2 separate regions of the Homo sapiens genome follow, and region 2 is linked to region 1. The links are contacts of gene promoters, found by promoter capture Hi-C in blood cells and fetal thymus (Javierre and others, 2016). All regions are on one chromosome and are shown on one strand. The core of a region is centred on a gene start or on the middle of the fragment in contact, and the rest is flanking DNA. Distances in the headings are between cores, read along the strand shown.

Evidence for each region. The method cuts DNA at HindIII sites, captures the fragments that hold promoters and counts their contacts. A CHiCAGO score of 5 or more calls a contact.
Region 2: a contact is called between a fragment that was not itself captured here and the fragment with the promoter of CRYZ in region 1, in 1 of 17 cell types (total B cells). The highest score is 6.4, in total B cells.

Annotation. Positions count from the first base shown.
Region 1 is chr1:74,730,301-74,736,228 of GRCh38, reverse strand. CRYZ (crystallin zeta) reads left to right here and starts at 3,179. Exons shown (of 9, transcript NM_001889.4): 1 at 3,179-3,273. It overlaps TYW3 (tRNA-yW synthesizing protein 3 homolog), which reads right to left and starts at 3,077. Exons shown (of 6, transcript NM_138467.3): 1 at 2,811-3,077. The coding sequence starts at 2,984. RefSeq lists enhancers at 2,463-2,562, 2,943-3,232, 2,787-3,497, 4,093-4,382. The HindIII fragment of the contact is 10,326 bases long and covers 1-5,928 here.
Region 2 is chr1:72,283,551-72,289,478 of GRCh38, reverse strand. All of the region lies in intron 1 of LOC105378797 (a long non-coding RNA gene), which reads right to left. Among named protein-coding and RNA genes, the nearest start is that of NEGR1, 4.0 kb to the right of the region's middle. RefSeq lists an enhancer at 3,923-5,122. The HindIII fragment of the contact is 499 bases long and covers 2,772-3,270 here.

The sequences.
Region 1 (5,928 bases), core at 1,930-4,429:
GCTATTTGGCTAGCACAGTATTTAAAAATGAAAAAAAAATAATTTTAATTTCTTTTGTAGGACAGCACTGTCCCAATTCCACACAAGACCTACTACCCTTTATTGTCACCTATGCCGTTTACACATTTATAATACTTCCTTGGTCTCTAGAGGCATAAATTTGTGACCTCTGAATTAGACTTTAGATGTAGTCCTGAAGGATGGAGCTAAGACTGAAAGGTCAAAGTTTCATGAAGGCAAACATTTTAATATTAACTTAAATTGAACAAATGTTTATTTGCAAAGTTCTATTAGGTACTTTGGGTATACACAGAACCTACCCCTCAAGGACACTGGAAAGGGGATGCAGGAAACCACATGAACAGAAATCACTATACTCAAAGTAACTATAATTTATACGATGGATCCACAAGAGACTCTGCTGTCTGCCCTTGGAACCGGGAATTGCTATGCATGTCCTAAATAAATATTTTGACTTCATTGTATGACTTCGGTGATGGTGACTTACGTATCTGACATTGTGCTGGCTACTCTGAATCTTAGAGCCAAATGTATGGCCCACTTCTAGCAACTTTACAGGATCTAGTGGTGGGATTGGCAACTAATGCCATCGCTGGCTTCATCTTATCTATATTTTCTTTATCCAGATTTTCCCACTTTTTATTTTTTCTTGTGTTGCCTGTTTGTAAGTTGCCCCAAATCCTTACTGAAATAAGGCAGATTTTAAAATAAACCATAATACGAGGTGTAAGATAAGAAATAAAAGTCTAACCAGTACAGAAGCAGTCATTACTTCCAAGTAGGTAGTATGTGTTTGTGGGTTCAGGTGGGAGAGGGGAGTTTTGGGAATCATGTCTCAGATATGCAGAGATAGGAAAACATTTCAGGAAAAAAACCGCCAAAAAACATGAGCAAAAGCAAGTAAATACAAGATGAAAAGAACAGTTTAGTTTCAGTAACTAGCTAAAGATGAAGAAAAGCAATGAAAAAAAGGTTGAAAGGTATACTAGAGTAAGCATTTGGATTTTCTGATGTAGAAAAATGTGTAATAAAACATAGCATAGGTGAGAGATAAGCAGAGTTGCAATTTGTCAAACATGGTTTGGAGAAGAATAGTTAAGTGGCTTGTTAGAGAACCATTGCAAAAATCAAGGCGAGACAGAGTTATGGAAATGGGGCAAGAGAGAGTTTGTGGGCAAGAATGCCATTGCTCTGAAGGTGATGGAAGTGATTTAAAAATGAACAGGCCCTGCTAACTTGAGAGATCAGCAAATAAATGATCAGTCAATAATGGACCTAAAGAATGAGCCTAACAATGTGCTGTCTTCCATGCTCTTAAGCCAATACTACGAATAAAATCAGTACACAGCCAACTTTTACAGTGCATGGGCCAGGCACAAAGCCAAATATTTCAAAAAAAATTATCCTATTTTCTCCACACAAAATCCCTATAAAGCAGATACTTTTTATTATCCTCAGTTCATAGAACAGGAAGGGGCAGAGTTGAGATAGCTTTCCTAAGGTCACATAGCCCGTGGTTTTTAATCTAAGCAGTATCACTCCCAAGCAGCCTTATCCTCAGGGGATATGTCCCAAGACCCCCTAGTGGATGCCTGAAACCTCAGATCAATTTCTTTTTCCTTCTTCACTTCACAATTTCACTGACAAGATTCATTCTTTCCGTAGATCTTAGCAACCTCAGCATATGCTGTTTTTTCTTTCCTTAAGTCTTTCCTTAAGAACTTTCACCTTTTCACTTCAAAAAAGCACTTTAAAACTTACTGTTGGCAGATCCAAATCGCCAGCATCATTACTCCCGTACTTTGGGGCCATTATTAAGTAAAATAAGAGTTACTTGAACACAAGCACTGTGATACCACCACAGTCGATCTGATAACCCAGAAGGCTACCAAGCAGCTAAAGGGCAGCAAGAATATATAGTGGAATATTCTGGACAAAGGGATGATTCACCTTCCATTCTGGAAGGAGCTGGTTGGCTCAAGATTTTATCACGCTACTCAGAACAGCATGCAATTTAAAACTTACTAATTGTTTATTTCTGGAATTTTCATTTAATATTTTCAGACTGCTGTTGACTGGGGTAACTGAACCTGCAAATAAGGAGGTATGGCTTGTACAGCTGCTTCTTGATTTATGATGGGGTTACATCCCAATAAATCCGTCATAAGTGGAAAATGTAAGTCAAAATGCATTTACTACCCCTGTAAACCCATCATAAAGTTAAAAAAAAAAGTCTAACCATCCTAAATTATATACGATCGTACTTTTCTCTGCGTAAAACTACTAGAGTTGTAATAATGGAGGGGCTCACTAGGAGGCAGTAAACTCCTTAACACTGGTGATGTTCAAGCATGCAGTAACAATGATTTGCCAGAGCTGTTGATGAGCGGATTCCGGCATTCAATACCTTAGCAAGCTACAAAGTCTTTAGATTCCCTTAGTATTCATATAATAAAATCAAATTTTCTAAACTTTGCCACACAAGATAGTTCCCAGGTCAGCAGTTTCAACATCATTTGGGCACTTGTTAGAAATGCACAGTATCAGGCCCTACCCTACACTTAAAGAATCGGGATCTGTATTTTAAAAGATGCTCAGCTGATTAATAGCCACGTTAAACTTTTAGAAGCACTGATCTAATCCCCTAAATTTCACATATAAAGAAACAGAGACCACCCCTCAGAGGAGCAAACACAGACATGCTGGATCCGGTCGTCACTGGATGGGAACAGGGCTCCTGAAGTTTCGCACTAGAAGGCAGGCGATGGACAGGCGCAAAGGGGCCTCACCCGGTCAAGGAGTAGGATGCGGCCAGCGCAGGAGCTGGTGGTGAAAAACTGATCTCGCATGTTCAGAAACTGCACAAGCTCTACCACATCCTCGTCAACACTGCCCTTCCGGCTGAGGTCCGCTTTGCTCAAACATTGCGCCTTCCATTTCCTGAACTCCGCGCTGCGATCCATGGGTGACGGACTCAGGGTCTGCGCTCGGCTCCTTCATGGTAGCCTCGTCTCTCCCTGGGGGCAGCCATATTGAAGCGAGCGGTGGCCGAAAAGGTCCAAACTTCCTCTTCGTTCTTAATTTGGGAAATTCTAGTGCCTTCGCCTAGGGGTGGAGAGAGGCGCACATCCTGGGTGGAGCGAGGCGCACATCCTGGGTGGAGCCTGCAAAAGTTGGAGAAGGTGTGGCAGTCCTCATTTCTGTGGAATCTGAAGAAGCCCACGCAGATTTTAATTCCCACTCTAGATTCTGGTAAGTGGTTTTAAAAACTCTCCTTAGTTGTTTAGACAGCGAATCTCCCCACTGCTCGTCCAAGTGGAACCGAGTTTGATTTTGGCTGCACCCCTTTCCTGCCCTCTGTCCTCCCAGAGAACTAGTGCGTAGAGCTCCAGACCGAAGCCATTCCCCTCCAGGGGCTGCAAGTTCCCATCCATAAATCAGGTAGGAAGTTTTGCCTTCTGGTCCTGGGCTCCTAGCCCTGGTCCTGCGTTTAGGCTCTGAGTTTAGGCTACCACACCATGAGGTGTCCGTTGGCACTACCCCTGCCCAGCCTCCGCCCCCCGCACTCCCTGTCCCCCAGCCCCACGCTGCACCCCCCCCCCCCCCCCCCGCCAGTCACCCGCTTGATTTTTCCCTGCAGCCAGTGCCTGGGTTTGGGGATTCCTGCAGCAGCGCCCAGCGGTCTGTCCAGGGCCCCTTCCCACAGCCCAGCTCTCAGCTGTAGAGGATTTGTCCTAGGTAGGGCCCCTTCCCACAGCCCAGCTGTAGGGGATTTCTTCTCCTAGGTAGGGCCCCTTCGCACAGCCCAGCTGTAGGGATTTGATTTCTTCTCCTAGGTAGGGCCCCTTCCCACAGCCCACCTGTCAGCTGTAGGGGATTTCTCCTAGGTAGGGCTCCTTCCCACAGCCCAGCTGTGGGGGATTTCTTCTCCTAGGTAGTGCCCCTTCGCACAGCCCAGCTGTAGGGGATTTGATTTCTTCTCCTAGGTAGGGCCCCTTCCCACAGCCCACCTGTCAGCTGTAGGGGATTTCTCCTAGGTAGGGCTCCTTCCCACAGCCCAGCTGTAGGGGATTTCTTCTCCTAGGTAGTGCCCCTTCGCACAGCCCAGCTGTAGGGGATTTGATTTCTTCTCCTAGGTAGGGCCCCTTCCCACAGCCCAGCTGTGGGGGATTTTTTGTCTTGGATTCCCACAATTACAGGTTTCCCGGAGCTTCCTCCAGCTTTGCCATCAGGATTGCAGTCTTTGAGAGAAATGTATAGTTTTATTGACCCTGTGACGCCCACCACCTAGAATAATCTTCAAAAGAAAATTACAAAACACCCTGTTAACACATCGTTGGATGTTTATACTGAGTTTCTAGAGGAGACTCAGTGACCAGGGAAGGTGTGTCAATGATTAAACCTAAAGGCTAAAGTTTGGAATGCTTGTCCGTAGCTAATGGAAATTGTTGTGCGAGTCCCTCTGAAGCCACTGTGATTACGTGTCTGGTTAGCGCAGCGAGTTCAGCAGCAAATCTCTCCAAGCTCTACTCCTCCAGCATTAGGGAACAGACTGCCCTGTTCCATACGATCATGGAACCTGGAGGAGTCCGAAATTATTAAACTCCTCCCCTCTTCTTACCCCGTCCTATCTCAAGTGAACAGAAGTGACCTGATAAGATCACACAGCCAGGAAGAGACTTTCTCTGACCACTTGTAATTCTTGCCTTTTTTACATTTCTGGGTTAATAATAAACCATATGCTTACATGAGTCATTGTGTATTAGCAGCAGAACAATTTGTAATGATTGATTTTTTTTCTAAGTTTTCAGTTTTTAAAATTCTTGCCAGAATTCTTATTTAATTTTACTTTTGCTCTTGTCTCATAATGTTCCTTTGCTCTGGCTTTGTGACTTGATCTGTTCATCCTATGTTAAAATATACTCCTAACATTTTCCCAATTCCTTTAATTTTCGTTTAAATCAAATGGATACAAGCATAGCCAGGAAAAAGATCACTGTTGGAAGAGGGATTTTAGATTTTCTATTTCCTAGATTTGTAAGGCATATTGGCAACCTTTCAGAGGTAAAATTAAACCAAAAATTAAACCAAGGGACTCTTAATTTTTAAAAGTTTATATTTGATAAACAGGAAGGCCTATTTGAAGTATAGTTTAATTAAAAAGCACAAGCAATGGAAAGGCCTGTCCTGTTCACAAGGATCCGATGCTAGGGAGTAATTTTTTTTTATACATTTTTAAAAATAGAATCATGTCCTTTGTATTTCTGCTGCATTCCCTGACTTAGTGGGCATTTGAGAAATTTCAAACTCTAAGCAGATGCCTTAGTCATAAAATATGCGATTCTACCTGCAGGTTAGTTTGATTTCACATTTTCTAGCTCAATCTGTCTCACTATCACTATTGTAAAGTTTATTTCTACGAAGTAAAGGGTCTTATATGCCAGCATCTCAAAGGGTGAGATGAAAAGGATGGTAAAGAAAAAAATCAGCTAACACCATTTAATTACAGGACTTGGGTTCTAGCTTTGCTTCTGTGTGACCCTGACCAAGTCTCTTAACCTCTTGTGATGTTTTCTCATCCATAAAATGGATGGCGATTTTATTTTTACTTCTGCATAAAATAATAGTTTAAATAACTTCTCTACCTGTTCTGAAAACAGTTAAGTCAATGGAGGTGGAAGACTTATGCTTTTTAGAAGAAATCCGGTATTACAGGATTTTAAGTATTATCCTATTTGCCATCAGTATGCCACGTTATTTTATTCTTTGTGTAATCTCCTTTGACAGGCTTCATCGTTATGAAGCATATGATGATCCCGTGGATAGGTGAGTTCAAAGGCAATGAGTGCAGGTTGGAGCCTGATGAATCAGAATGCTAAAGGCTCAGTGGGAGATAAGATCAACAGA
Region 2 (5,928 bases), core at 1,772-4,271, 2.4 Mb after region 1:
GTCAGTGTTCTCAAAAACTTGCAGCTCAGCATTGTGTAATCTAGGAGAAGTTTTCAGTACTGATATCCAAGAATGTTTATAGCATCACTGTCTTTAATAGACAAGTAACATAAAACATATCTTCCAAAAATATAATGAATAAATATATAATTCTATAGATATACTATGAAATGCTACATGGATTCAAGAAATGAAGGAACAACAGCTGCACAACAGCACAGAGGAATTCTAACATATGATGTTAAGCAAAAGAAGCCAGAAACAAAAAAGTGTATGTTATAATTACATGTTGTATGATGTATTGTGGCTTTGTATGAGTACATATAAAAGCCAGTCATTCTTTCAGAGGGATTCAAAGCTAAATAGTAAAAATATAAGGAAAATGAGGAAATGATGATGGTGAAATAATTACAGTGGTTACTTTTAAGGAAGAAAATGGGGGTTATAATTTTAAAAAGGCTTGCAGAAGGCATTTGGAGTGTTGGTAATTTTCTGTTTCTTAATCACTGTGGAATGAAATGGATGTTAACTTTAAAATAGTGCTTCACTAATCTGTACCTTCACATTCTATGCACTTTTCTAAAAGTATATTGTTAAAAATGTGTATTTCAGAACAAAAAAAATTAAATGTCATAAACATGGGTGACTGTTATAAATTTGGAAAGGTATTTGATATAGTCCTTTAAAATTATTCCACTTCAAACCCGGCTGACTTTTTCTCATCTTAAGAAAAACCAATGATTTACTTACCCATGAATATCATAACTTACAACAAGAGCAATAAAAATCTCAATAGTTGCTAGAAGTGAACATGGAGTGAAGTGGCAATAGTTTTCTTTCTCCTTAGGGCTATGTTTTAAAGCTATGTTTTCACAATCTTGTGTTAAGAAAACTATATTAACAGTAAAAATTATCACAAATTAAAAATTACAAATTCTAGTCAAGATGTCTTCATAAGTTTACACAGTGAGGTACTTCCCATTTATACAGGCACACACATATACACAGACACACATATATCAATTATAGAAAAAAATATAAAATGCTAAAGGGACAAAATTAACAAGTCATAGTAGAGTCTGAAAATATACAAGATAAACACCTCTGCAATAAAAATCAGAACCTTTTAGGAAATTAAATAAATTACATAATAAAATAAAACAGAATAATTCTTTTGGAGGGTAAGATCTTACATTCATATGTATACATGTGCCATGCTGGTACGCTGCACCCACTAACTCGTCATCTAGCATTAGGTATATCTCCCAATGCTATACATATGTAACTAACCTGCACAATGTGCACATGTACCCTAAAACTTAAAGTATAATAATAATAAAAAAGAAAATTAAAATAAAATGCCACCTTCTCAATCCTGAAAAAAAAAAGATCTTACATTCATCATAGTTCAGTATAAAGTATAAAATTTGATGTTTATTTTTGAACAGAGGTGTTTGAGTTTCTTAGAAATATGTGAGAAAAAATCTTAAATAATAATTATTGGTTTTCCTGGAACCCACTGTAAATTATATAATGAAATATAGTTAAAGCTGTACTTGTTTTCTTACAAGTAGAAAGGTAGAAACTTCAGTTATTTGAAAATGATTTCTACCCATATCTATTGTAACACTGTTCTTTCTTGTTTAAGTACTTAGGTGAAATTTTCAGGGCCATTCTATGGAAATGGCTTGAAGAGCTCTGAAAGTAGAGTAGGTATCTCCGCACTCCTCCAAACATACAAACACACATATACGCTTCTAACTTCTTTGCTTACCCCCAATGCTGATGGTGAATAGATAAGATGCTAAATAAATTATAACTGAATAAATATATGATATTTAAATAGAATGACCCAATAGGCAAATAACTTTTTGCTTTTTTCTTCTTCTTTATGCAATAGCCATTTCCAGAGTGAATAATATGTAGCTGTCACAATATAAAGAAGGCAAATATTTACATGGGTTATTGCCCAAAATAAGCTCACCATTTACTTACACTTTTATTTTGGAAAAAACAACATAAAATGACAATTTCCTTTCAAAGAACTATTAGTTCAATACTTGCTTAAATAAAAGACCCCCTCTCGCCTACTTTACAATAACATTTATAACCAAACTATACATTACAACAATATAGAAGACCTTTGTTAGTGTATAATTGTAATGTTATTTGAGCAAGTCTCCTACAATTTAGGAAGAAATCCTAGAAAGTATTTTGTTGCCGTCAGCCATTAAATTCATTGCATCTGTGGTAACCTGGGCTACTCAACCACATGGCAAGTAAATGTAGAGATTGAACTGATGAGAAGGAGCTCTTTTTGTAGCTATAGAATCCAAATGAGATACTTTTGACAAAAAAATCTGCTTTATTATTTTATTTGAAAAACACAAGATGGTATATATTTTAGAAATATAACTTACAATGAAGTGGTTCTCAACTTGGAGTAATCCCCTTTCCAATCCACAGGACATTTAACAATGCCTGGAGAAATTCTGGGTATCACAACTATTGGCATCTACTGGATAGAGGCCAGGGATGCTGATAAACATTTTCCAAGGCACACAGAAGTCCCCATGCTCCACACACACACACACACACACACACACACACACAAATTACCTGCACCAAAATGTCAAAAGGGCCTAGATTGAGAAACACTTCTGTAGTGGAAGATTCCCCTCCACCAACAAATTTCTGGAACTCTATATTTCTCACCCTGACCTGAAATTCATCAGTATACGTCAGTTTTAGTTGGCAAGGTACTCCAAGCTTAAGGCAGCTTAATTCAAATAGAGAATCAATTATGGACCAAGTTAGAGCGCTATTATTCAGAGGTACAGTTTATAAGGGCTTCCTGACTGCCTCCTTCAGGAAATACAAAGTGATCTCATTAGCTCTTTCCATTAGGTCCTGGGACCCGTCTTGGCTAAAACTTCTCATGCTCACACAGTAATAACATGGTCTGTCGTGGGGTGGGGGAGGGGGGAGGGGGGAGGGATAGCATTAGGAGATATACCTAATGTAAATAATGAGTTAATGGGTGCAGCACACCAACATGGCACATGTATACATATGTAACAAACCTGCGCGTTGTGCACATGTACCCTAGATCTCAAAGTATTAAAACAAAATAACATGAAAGATGAAGCTGGCTTTACTCATTCACTACTAATAAACAAATGTAAACTTCTATTTTTTTCCATTCTAACAATCACAGTTACACTGTTGAATAAAAATCGAGTTTATTAAAGTAAGCAATCTTAAGAAGCTTCCTTATATAACATTACTCTTTCCAACATCCTTAGGGATTCAAAATACAGGTCATAGGGCATGAAAGGCAGGAGTGGAATCAATCTAGATAATGAAATAATCTGCAATCATAATCAGGCTCCACCTTTCTCCTTTTATACTAACTCCCTACTGATTATTACATTTCTTGAAATACTAGAAGTTGAGCTTTTAAAGCGAAAAAAGGTACATCATTATAAAGAAATAATAATTAATTCCAATGTCACTTCCTTAAAATTCTAACCAAAGGAGTAACCCATTATACCCACTCCACTATTTGCCTCTAAAATGTTCTAAACAATGCTATTACTAATTCTTCTATTTCAAAAAATTCTACTAAGGAACTATTTGCTATTTAAGCTTTTTTTTCTCATTTGGTTGTTGTTTGGTTTTGTTTCGATTTTCCCTCAAAAAGAGCCAAGACAATCCGAATTTAAGTCTCTGTTTGTAAGAATTCCAGGACTTCAAAAGCAAATATTAGAAACCACGTAAAAGCCTGTCAGATGTTTTGCCCTTAGAAAGGTTTAGGGAATAGGAAGTCATAAAAGCTTTTAAATTCATTTTCTTTAGTCAGAAGACTAGAAGTATAAGGGTCTGGAGAGGCTGCCCTACCTGACATTCTTGCACTTGCTGTAAATAATAGTGACGTACCTGTAAATACTTTCCCCCATAATCCAGACATCTATACACTAAGTTCAGTCATTGCTTTCTTTAGATGGGTTCTCCAAGAGTTAAGTGTGATCTGTGAATGGTAGTTGAGATAAAAAACTAGAAATAAGGAAAGGAAACTGTCTTTAAAAGAAGTGGCTCCAGTTTCCGTTTACAAGCCTGAAGGGTTGTTGTACATATTAAAACTGCAGCATAGCTCCATCCCTGGTCAAAGAAAACCCTCCTCCTACCACCCCCAACCCACCCCCGTGGACACTGAAGATGTCAGATCTCTGGGAAACAGCAGTCAGAAAAGGATGCTTTTCATAGCTTGTACTAGAAAACACTGGCACCCCCATCCCTGCTTAAAATAGCACTAAACTGAGTCACAATGCAGGAAGCTATACCTTCTGTGTCTCTTCAATAGAATCTAGCTCGTTTCTACTGAAATGCTAAATAATACTGCATAGCTTTGCCCATGTATGTGACATGTCAAGTCTTCTAATCCCCCGTTTGCCCTAGATAATTTTACGCTTTATCCATCAGCGTGCCACGCAAGATAGAAAAATGCAGTTAACAAGATGACAGTGTTACTTAGGTATTTGGCATCGATATTAGTGAGAGTCTGTCATTTCACAATTATTTCCCTAGCATACCAGACGGTAAAGAAAATGTTTTCATTCATCCGCAAATGACTAACATTTTATTGATGTTTCAAAATGCGGTTGAAACTATTGCACTCTCAGTTTCCGAGTCGGTTTTGAGAGTTAAGGCAGAATACTAACATCAGTGACTCCTGACGCAAATGTCTCCGTTAGCTGCCCAGCCTTGGAGTGCCAGTTCAGCAGGGAGGTGTTGCTAGTTAAGGATTCGTCTGTAAGCCAGTCTGGGTGGTCACAGGTGATGGGAACCCTTCCCTTTCCCCATATATCCCCGTGCATGGCGATAAAAATCACTCTGAACACTGCTACCACCAAGCAAAACGACTCCCTGCCTGCCTCGTAAAGAGCTCAGTCTGCGGAGGCAGCCGGATGCTGACCCCTGCAGAGAGTCTTGCTTCGGTGCGCTTTGCCAAATGACCCTGCTAGCATTATGGAAAACGAGTTACGGACGTGTGAGGTTTTGCTTCATTTCCTCCAAAAGAAGAACTGGGATCTGGCAAAGAATATCTTCTTCAAACACTGCTAAAGGGGGATGGGGTGGAGGAAGGGAAAAAGTGTGTGAGGGGGAGGGAGCTTATTTTTTAATTACTTATTTTCCATTTTCACTTCCCCGCTCTGCTTCCCAAACTCCTCGCTGAACAAGATTGATTGGTGTAACTGCTAACGACTCAGCCTCGGTTCTCGCATTGATTTGCAAATGGCCCGGAAAAGCTTAAGGATCTTGAATCTGGAAATGAGTTCAAGAAGGAAAGAAGAAAAAAGAGTAGGGGTGGCCCCACGCCTAGTATCTCCTTCTGCCTTGGGCCAGGGCAGGGCTGAAAACAGCCCGGCGAGCTGCGGAGGGGCTGCTGCGTGGGGAAGCGGAGGTTACCGCTCTGCACCGCGGAGGAGCAAGCCTGTTAACGCGGTGTGGAGGCTGTTAAGAAATACAACCCTGCGACTCGTTAAACCCCTTAACTCTGCCCTGCCTTGACTCGGATGCGCCGATTATTCGGCCTGATAGGCTCAAATGGGTTAAACTGCCTCTTACATAACTGGACCGCCTGGGCTCTACACAATTAAAACACTTGATTGCAGTCTTTTCCCGACTCTACATCCCAGCATGACCCGCCCCGTCCCTCCCAGCGCGCCTGCGTGCCGCGCGTGCACAGGCCCCCGCGCGCACGACACGCTCTCTATCACACACACACTCCATGTTGACCATAAACAATCCCCTACTCACACACACAACTTAGTGTCAACACCCACAGATAAAAGAGGGGCGTCCTGCAATCCATACGGGCCGACCGCCACAAACACGCAAGCTGCTCTGCCGCAAGGCCTTGCACCT